Linked DNA regions of Homo sapiens: region 1 is linked to region 2. The links are contacts of gene promoters, found by promoter capture Hi-C in human tissues and cell types (Jung and others, 2019). All regions are on one chromosome and are shown on one strand. Each heading gives the region's core, a stretch centred on a gene start or on the middle of the fragment in contact. The rest is flanking DNA. Distances are from core to core; before and after follow the strand shown. Region 1 overlaps NHEJ1 (non-homologous end joining factor 1). Region 2 holds the start of WNT10A (Wnt family member 10A).

Region 1 (4,270 bases), core at 767-3,266, 230 kb before region 2:
CAAACAATATTCAACTAGAAATCCTCTGTGGGGTTGCATTTTGCTGAATCGAGTTGAATGTAGGCAGCCTGAATTTAGTCTGGGAGGTAATCAGCAGGGTCTCACAGATGGAGCTATGGGTGGAGAGTCAGGAGACCCCTTCATAAGCAAAGTGTCCTTGGACATGTCACTTCTAATTGCTGGATGACAATTGTTTGTCCCCTTGTGGGCTTGTGTGTGTGTGTTTTCAGAGATTTCCTTAACATGCTCAAAGCCGTGAACTTCTCCCTAAGAATATTTTGCTTTGGAAGATGCTTGTTTTCAGCCCCTGCCCCACTTTCCTAGCCTAGAAACTTCCCTGTCTAAGGCATTGGTTTTGTTTGGATGAGAATATTGTGGGAAGAGGATCCTGAAGCGTGATAGACTGAGTTCTGTTTCAGGCTTCTCCTGTGAGCGTTGTTGCTGAGAATGAGAGGGACGAACTTTTTTTGGAGTATTAAATGGGTGATGGTCATCATTATGATAAATCTCCCTTTTCTAGAAAGGTATTCCAAGTATGGAATACCTTGGAAATGATAGCAGTTCTGGCTGTAGCTTAATAGGTTTGCCAAGGATCTTAGGCTCATACAGGTAAGGCCAGCTAACTCCACTTCTCTATAGTTTATAGAAGGTGACACGAAGACTTATGGAGGGGGAGAAAAATGAGAGTGGACTGAGGTAAGGGCTCTTTTCTATGTCAGGACAAAAGCCTTGGAGGCTCTGAGTGGCTAAACTTGGAGGCTTATCACTTATCTGGAGCCTCTGAAGAAGGACAAAGCCAGAGAAAGCAGGTTATAGAGATAAATAATGATTACATTTTAAGATAAGTTCTTGATGGTAAAAATGTCAGATTACAAAAAATACATATATATATTGAATCAGAATTCAAGGAAGCTGGTCCCTACCTGGAGGATAGTTTCTCCATTTTCCTCCCCTTTTCTATTCCTGTCCATCTCTCCCTCCTCAATTTGTTTTGAGTTTGTGCTTCAGCACGTATTTGGTGCACCAAATGCAAATCATCTTGCCCTGTGACCACAGAGACTGCAGCGTTGGAAATTCTTCCTGAATTGCTGACCTGGTTCTGCTGTACATTGTTTATATTTTATGACACACGTTTAACAATATAAACTGTAATATATTAAGGTAAAACATTGAACAAGTGAAGCAGAGTCGAGAGATGCTGGTGACACATGTTTGGTTAGCACTGAGGAGGTAAAGTACTTTGACTTAGTCGTTGCCTTTTTCATATGCCGTGATAGTTGCCTGCCTACCCCATGATTTTAAGATGTATAGCATAAACAATATACCACATAAAGGCATAAGAGATTTCTATAAATCTGGGCAACTAATTTCAGCAAAATCTTTTCATGTGTTTTTACTGGAAATACTTTCAGAATTGTGATTCTTGGTGGCACAGTGCGTGTATGTGTGTGTGCATGTTTCATGTCCTATCATATGGAGATGGATCTGGTCTTTTTCTGCTTACTCTTATTCATTGTGAAAGTCATGAGTGTAAAGGAGGGCGTAAAAGAGGGCGAAGTTTCAGGGGTTTGGAACAGAACTAAGTTGCCCAGCATCTGTGATGTTTGTTCCTGAAAAACTTCAGGTTGCTAGAGATCAGCTTTCAGGGAAGTAGTATTGATGAGTCCTTTCTCCTCCTTCATATCTGGACCTTTTGCAACCTGAGTATGACTTTTGGGGCCTGTTTCAGCAGGTTGGCCTCCCTGTTATCCTGCAACAAGAGAAGGGTCTAGGTGTGTGCCCCTAGGAGACTTTTACAAGTTCAAGGCAAGGTCAAGCTCTCCTTTCTAGCCCTTGACTTTGTTCCTGGAGAGACTGCAGTTTCTTGGCCAGTTTGGAGTGTAAAAGGCACAGTTAGCTGGAATGGAATTAATTATAATGATGATTTATATATGCGTGATATTTATGGTTGGTCCTAGTCTTTGTGAATTAGGACAATATTTTTGTATTATTATCCCTATTTTATAGATGAGGAAACTGGGGTTCCTTGAGCTTCCCAAGGTAACATAGCAAGTAAGCAACAGAGCCAAAACTCAAACCAGGTCAGTTTAAATTGTTCCATTAGGTTACTTAAATTGGTCACCTGGTCTTCTACCTTATGACTCTTGCTTTGACCAAGGGCCAGGGTTCAAAAGGATAAGCTCCCCAGTGCTTTCACCATTTAGTTACAATCTCTGTTGTATTTCTCATTCTTTTTAGCAATTTTTCCTTGCCGAAGCTTTCCTTTTCCACTCTATTCCTATTTCTCTGACCCCCACTTTCAGAGACTGCCTTATTTGCTTTCCTAGAAATTCCCCTTTTAAGGCTTTTGGGAACTTTGACCTACCAGTAGTAACTACATTTAAGAGAGTGTTTAAAATGTCTCCTGCCCCTCTCATTCATCCCCCCACCCCTAAAGCATGGCCTCGCCCCATCCTGCCATGATGCTGGCCAAGCGCGTGGGGCAGCTGTGGTCAGTCCCATTTATAAAGCTGGTAAATATGGGACCGGTTTCTGTCCCCTCCAAAGGTCAATATTTGTACAGAGTTTAATTTTAACTTAACAAGCAGTTGTTTTCTGCAGCTGCCCTGGTGTGTTGTGTTGTGTGTGCTTTCCTTTCCCCTTCTTTCCCACTGACTGTATGTATCTCTCTGTGTGTGTGTGTGTGTGTGTGTGTGTGTGTGTGTCTGTATTCACACTGTAGACTTAATTCTGGTCTTCAGAACCTGCAGCCCACTGGCTTGGCCACACTGTCTCATGAAAGACATTTGGGGCTAAAGGGATCTAGATAAGGGGAGTGGGCCAAGCGTGTGGGATAACTAGATTTTTTCTAGGGGTCAGGGGACAGAGAAGACTGTTTATTAGTATTCTGTAATGCTAATGTCATCACCATATCTTTCCCTTGTAGGAGAGTTTCTAGAATGCAGGATTTGAGAGCTGGTCCCCTCTTTTAAAAGCTGTACCATCCCCCTACTTTGCTTTTTAAGGAGTGTTAACCCCTTATCCAAGAAACCTGGGTTCTAATTTTGTCAGCTGCCTTTTGAGTAAATGAGGAGAATGGGTGAGATAAATCTGGCTTCCACCTTTTAGTAGTCTATGCTTTTATGAATAATAGAGCATTGGTCTGGGTATCACGAGTAAATTCTATTCCAGTTCTAAAATCATCTTTAAAATGATTTTCCCCCCTCTGGTCCTTAGTTAAGGAATATGACCTTTGTTCCTTACAAGGATTTTGTGAGGATGGGTGATGTTTTATTTAAAGGAACTTTGAGCTGTTTCAGTAAAGAGAAATACTTTAAAACTAAGCTCATCTTATCTACCCATGTCCCTTTTCACCAAGCTATTTAAGTTCTTTCTGCTTGCGAGCATGTTCCTGGCTTGGACAGTTCAGTCCAACATGCAGTCAGCCCAGACTCCTCAGAGCCAAAGGATCTGAAATGGAGGAGGAGCGCTGTGATGAACAGTAGCATATGGACTCCATCCACGGTGGCCGCCTCCTTCCTGTTTCTTGAACATCTGAGACCGGTGCCCCACCTCAGGACCTTCTCACTTGCCGTTCCCTCTGCTAAGAATGGTCCTTCCCAGATATCTGCATGATTCATTCCTTCACTTCCTTCAGGTCTTTTTTCAAGTGATACCTTCTAATTGAGGACTTCCCGGCCACCCCATCTAAAATTTCAGCCCCACCTCCACCCCCACCCCACCAGCACTTTCTGTCTCTGTCTCTGCTGTACTTTTCTCCATAGCACTTACCATAACCCAATATACCACACATTTCTACTTTTTTTTTTTTTTGGCAGCATCTCACTCTGTTGCCCAGACTGGAGTGCAATGGTGCAAACACAGCTCACTGCAGCCTCAACCTCCTGGGGTTCAAGCGATCCTCTCACCTTAGCCTCCCGAGTAGTTGGGACTACAGGTGCACCCTACCACACCTGGCTAATTTATATATATATATTTTTTGTAGAGACGGGATTTTTCCATGTTACACAGGCTGGTTTTGAACTCCTGGGCTCAAGCAGTCCTCTTGCCTTGGCATCCCAAAGTGCTGGGATTACAGGGTGCAGTGGGCACCCCTTAGATTCTGCTTTTTAATTACGTTGATTTTACCCCATGTGAAGACATGGATTCTCAATGAGGGCAGGGATTTTTGTCTGTGTGTTCATTGCTGTCTCTCCAGTGTCAATAGAACAATGCTTGGCACATGTAAGCTCTCAAAATGTATTTGTTGAATACATGGAAGGAAGGAAGG
Region 2 (4,110 bases), core at 115-2,614:
ATTGAGCACGGGCTCCGGGGGGAGGCGGAGGTCCAGAATGTCATTGGGTGCTGACCTGCAGACATATGGGGTGGAGTGGGTACGTGTTTTGGGGGGACCAGGAGAGCCCCATCTAACAACACACACTCTGTCCCAACGGCCATAATCACTCCCTCTTCCAACCTCTGCTTCTGAAGGTTGGGCCCATCAGTACACTCCTACACATTCCTCTCTCCTTGACCTCCTCACAATCATCCTGCCCAGTGCAACTCACTCAGCTAGCTGCACACCCACACAGGTAAGCGTGCAAATGCACACACATCCACCATGCTTGTGGCCACAGTATTTCCTATGCACATCCCCAGGAATAGATGCCCATACACACAGGGTTCCCCACAAGCCCACTCCCACAGATATGTTTCAGTCACATTCACATAGACACACTTCTGCACACATTGTGGTGGACACACAAACCCAACCCCAGCACACTTACGCACATGCACACTTCATCAGACATAGTTACAGACACACACACAAAGACACTCCCATTTACACATGTGTTCATCTTAACATACATTGACCCATGAGCTCTCACATGCACACATGGGCACACATACAAACTACTGTTTACCAACACAGTTTGCTGGGATCCTGGGCTCGATTGAAAACACACACACACACACACACACACACACAGCTCTTGCAGCTGCAGTCTCTCACTGACCCCACCTGGGCTACCCCCTTCCAGCCTCCCAACCCCTGCCCCTACCTGGGGCTGAGCTGCAGGAAGGAGTGAGGCAGCTTGTGCTTACTCCTGAGGTGGGGGTGCATTCCCCCAACAGGGCAGGAACTCCAGACTGGCACTTGCTCCCCCCCCACACACACCTCCCCTCCTAGTTGCCATCATGCTCCTGGGCACTGCCTTGTCTCCCTGGACTGCCCATATCCTGTCACCAGTCCAACCCCCTCCTATGAGGGAGCTCACTGCCTTTGGTTGGGCACCAGCACTTTCCTATGACCCTGTCCCTCCCTTCTTCCAGGGTCCTCTACCCCAGCAAGAGCATCAGAGGCCCCTGCAGGCCGGGGTCCCAACTCTCTAGGAGGGCGGAGCATGAGGTGAGGGCTCACCTGGGCATGGCAGCAGCCAGCAGCAGTAGGAAGAACAGGAGCACCCAGAGCGCTGGCCGCGGCTGGGGCTGGGGTCGGAGCCGCAGCCAGGGGCGAGGGTGGGCGCTGCCCATGGCGCGCAGGCCCTGACGGGCTGGGAGTGGGGGGCTCACAGCCCAGTGGGACTGGAGAGCCAGGGGCGCCGGCGCATGATCGGCGGGGGGTCGGGGCGGCTGCGACACACAGCTCCGACTCGGGTCAGGGCTCCCGGAGCAGACGGCGCCCGCCTCCCCGCTCCATGGGGCAGCACCCCCGGGCACCGCCCTCGGGGGGGGCGGGGGGTGAAGAGCGGGCGAACCGGGCACCTCCTGGCACAGGGGTCCGGGGAATTTCCCGAGGCCCCCCCGCGACAACTCCCGGTGCCTCTCAAGGGTAAGGGGGGCCCGGAGGTGCAGCGGGCTGGGGACGGGAGGCTGGGGTGCCGGGGAACCCTCCAGCGCAGCGCCGGGAGCCTGCGCTTCCGAGGGCGTGCGAGGCTGGCTGGCGGGGGCGGCGCTGTCTGTGTCGGGCCCCACTGCCTGTAGAGTAAGTGACTGTCCCGGCTCGGGGAGCTCTGCCGCCTTCCCTTTCCTCCCCCCACCCCCCCGCCATTTAGTGTCTCAGGGCTCTACCCCACGTGACGTCACGCGGCGGGGCGTGGAGGCGTGTACGAGTCCCGAGGCCACTGCGTCCGCTGGGGACTGGGGGTGGGAGCGTCCCTGCTGAGGGCAACAGAGGGAAAGGTGTTGGGGTCTGTGCGCGCGTGCACAGGAAGATGCCTGTGTGTGGAGCGCGCTGGGTTGTGTGGGGGATATGTGTTACCGCGAGGTGTGTGTGCCTGGCAGAGACGCAGCTGCTGGGGAGCGCCCCCATCCCACCCCAACACACACACCTGCAGGGGCTGGAGGGGAGGGGCTGGCCTCTGTGTTTCGCCTCCTCCGCCAGAGGAGGGACTTCCCCCAGGCCTGCCTGGTGTGAGGCAGGTGTGGGCTCCTGCAGAGGAGTTTGGCAGCCTCTGGTTTCTTCTCCCCTTTGCTGTGTGACCTTAAACAGGTGCCTCCTGCTCCTGCTCACGGAGACCTCCTCTGCCCCTTTGCGGAATGCGGCTCATGGGGACCACCTTGTCTCCTCAGTGAGCCCGGGGAGGCAGCAGTGTCAGGCCCCCAGAAAATGCTTGCGTAGGAGCGCCCGGGGTGGCACGTCCTGGGAGGAGGCGTTAGAGAGACTTTTAACCCTAGAAGTGGCCGTTGAGATAGTTTATTTAGCTCCCCTTTATTTCACAAGAAAATATCGAGGCTCAAAGAGGTCACACAGCAAATTAGCGGAAGAGCGAGAACCGAACGCAGCTCTCCTGACTCCCAGCGCAGCAGCTGCCTCCCCAACACTGAGTGTTGCCTGCCTGTGCCCGCAGATACTCTCAGTCTTGTCCTGGCCCTCCCTGGCCCCACCTGCACATGGTCCTCTAGGAGGTCCCTAATACCAGCCTCCTGGCTCAGGTCTACTTCTCGCTGAGATCTTCCTGTCCCTCCACCCCAACTGAACACTGGGCCCCTCCTCGATATAGTGCAAGTGTGCTGGGCCCAAGCAAGGGCCTGAGAGCCAGAGGGCAGGGGAAAGGCAGCTCTGCCGTCTGTTTCTGGTGCTAGCCTGGGCCCTGATAGTGGATCGTGCTCCTGCCCTGTGCCCTCGGCATCCTCCTCTGTAAAATGGGCACAAGCCTTTACACAAACATGCCCCTCTCTCTGAAGAGAGCCCCTGCTGGCTTAGGAACAAAACTATGGGAGCCTCTGGGCTCAGAGACAAAAAAGGCCCATTCCTGGAATTGCCCATCCCTGGGGAACTGAAGGAGGGGGTGGGGCCCTCCTTGTCCCCAGACTGTCAGGTGGTGGGGGCGGCCTGAGCAACAGCAGGCTGACGGCATACTCCCCCCTCCTTTCCCCCTCATCTCTGCCGGCAGCCACCGCAGCTGTCAGGAATTAAGGGCTTGAGGCTGCTGGGGGTGGGGGTGGGGCAGTGGGGGGGGAGCAGTCTGGCTGGACTGCAGGAAAACAGCCAGGGGCAGCAAGCAGACTGCGTCAGCTAGAGCCTTATTTGACCCCAACTGCCCCCTGCCCTCCCCACTCTCCCTACCATGCTGCAGAAACGGGGACAGCTTGGGACTAGCATTTGGGAAGGGTAAGCGGTAAGGGTAAGGGTGGGACCAGACTCAAGACAGGAGACAGGCACCAGCCCAGGATGAGAGAGGACACCAGCAAGCTGGAGAGTCATATTCTTATTGGCTGTTGGGGAAACTGAGGCCCAGAAAGAATTAGGAACGTGACACAGGGAAGGGACTCATAATCAGCTTACAGATGTCCTTATTCCCCATCACGCGCTCACACTAGCATTTCCCACGCTTGATGCAGCACAAGTGTCCCCTGGGGTGGGCCATTGTGGGAATGCGGATTCCAGGCCCCATGAAGTTGAATCAGCCTTTCCAGGGAAAGGCCTGGGTGTCTGTCTTTCTAGCTAGCATCCCCAGTGATTCTGGTGGGGACTCCTTTTGGGAAACGCTGCTGACCTGGTTGAGGAGCTGATTTAGTTTCCTTTGGCATCTCTCTGATGAGGGGGTCTCTTTTCTTCCCCACCTCCACTGTCTGTGAAATACAGAGGTGCAAAGGAGACCGAGAAAACCCTTTCTTAAAAAAAAACAAAAAAGCCTCCGGAGGCAAATAGTGATACTGAGGCTTGCACTCAGGCGTGGCTCTGCCCTGGTGTCAGGAGGGTCTAGGAGTGCCCAAGTCAGAGCACTTCTCAGTGAAGGGAGGGGAGAGTCTGTGTTGGTCCAGAGCCTTGGCATGTATGTAGGTGAGGCCCAGAGACTGTCTGCCCCTGGGGTCCCAGCCCCAAATGACCCACACCATGGCCAAGCCCCTATCAGCACCCCCTAGTCCCCACCCTGGCCCTGCCCTGGGCCCTGGCCCTCAGCCCAGCCCCAGCCCCCGC

The links. The method cuts DNA at HindIII sites, captures the fragments that hold promoters and counts their contacts. A contact is called where the count stands out against the background at its distance.
Region 1: a fragment that was not itself captured here is called in contact with the fragment with the promoter of WNT10A in region 2 in 1 of the 25 tissues and cell types used here (H1 embryonic stem cells).

What each region holds. Positions count from the first base shown.
Region 1 is chr2:219,110,064-219,114,333 of GRCh38, reverse strand. The region is part of intron 5 of NHEJ1 (non-homologous end joining factor 1); the gene reads left to right. Among named protein-coding and RNA genes, the nearest start is that of NHEJ1, 49 kb to the left of the region's middle. The HindIII fragment of the contact is 8,685 bases long and covers 1-4,270 here.
Region 2 is chr2:218,878,106-218,882,215 of GRCh38, reverse strand. WNT10A (Wnt family member 10A) reads right to left here and starts at 1,364. Exons shown (of 4, transcript NM_025216.3): 1 at 1,108-1,364; 2 at 1-55. The coding sequence starts at 1,220. RefSeq lists silencers at 1,289-1,428, 1,449-1,658, 1,879-1,938. The HindIII fragment of the contact is 13,021 bases long and covers 1-4,110 here.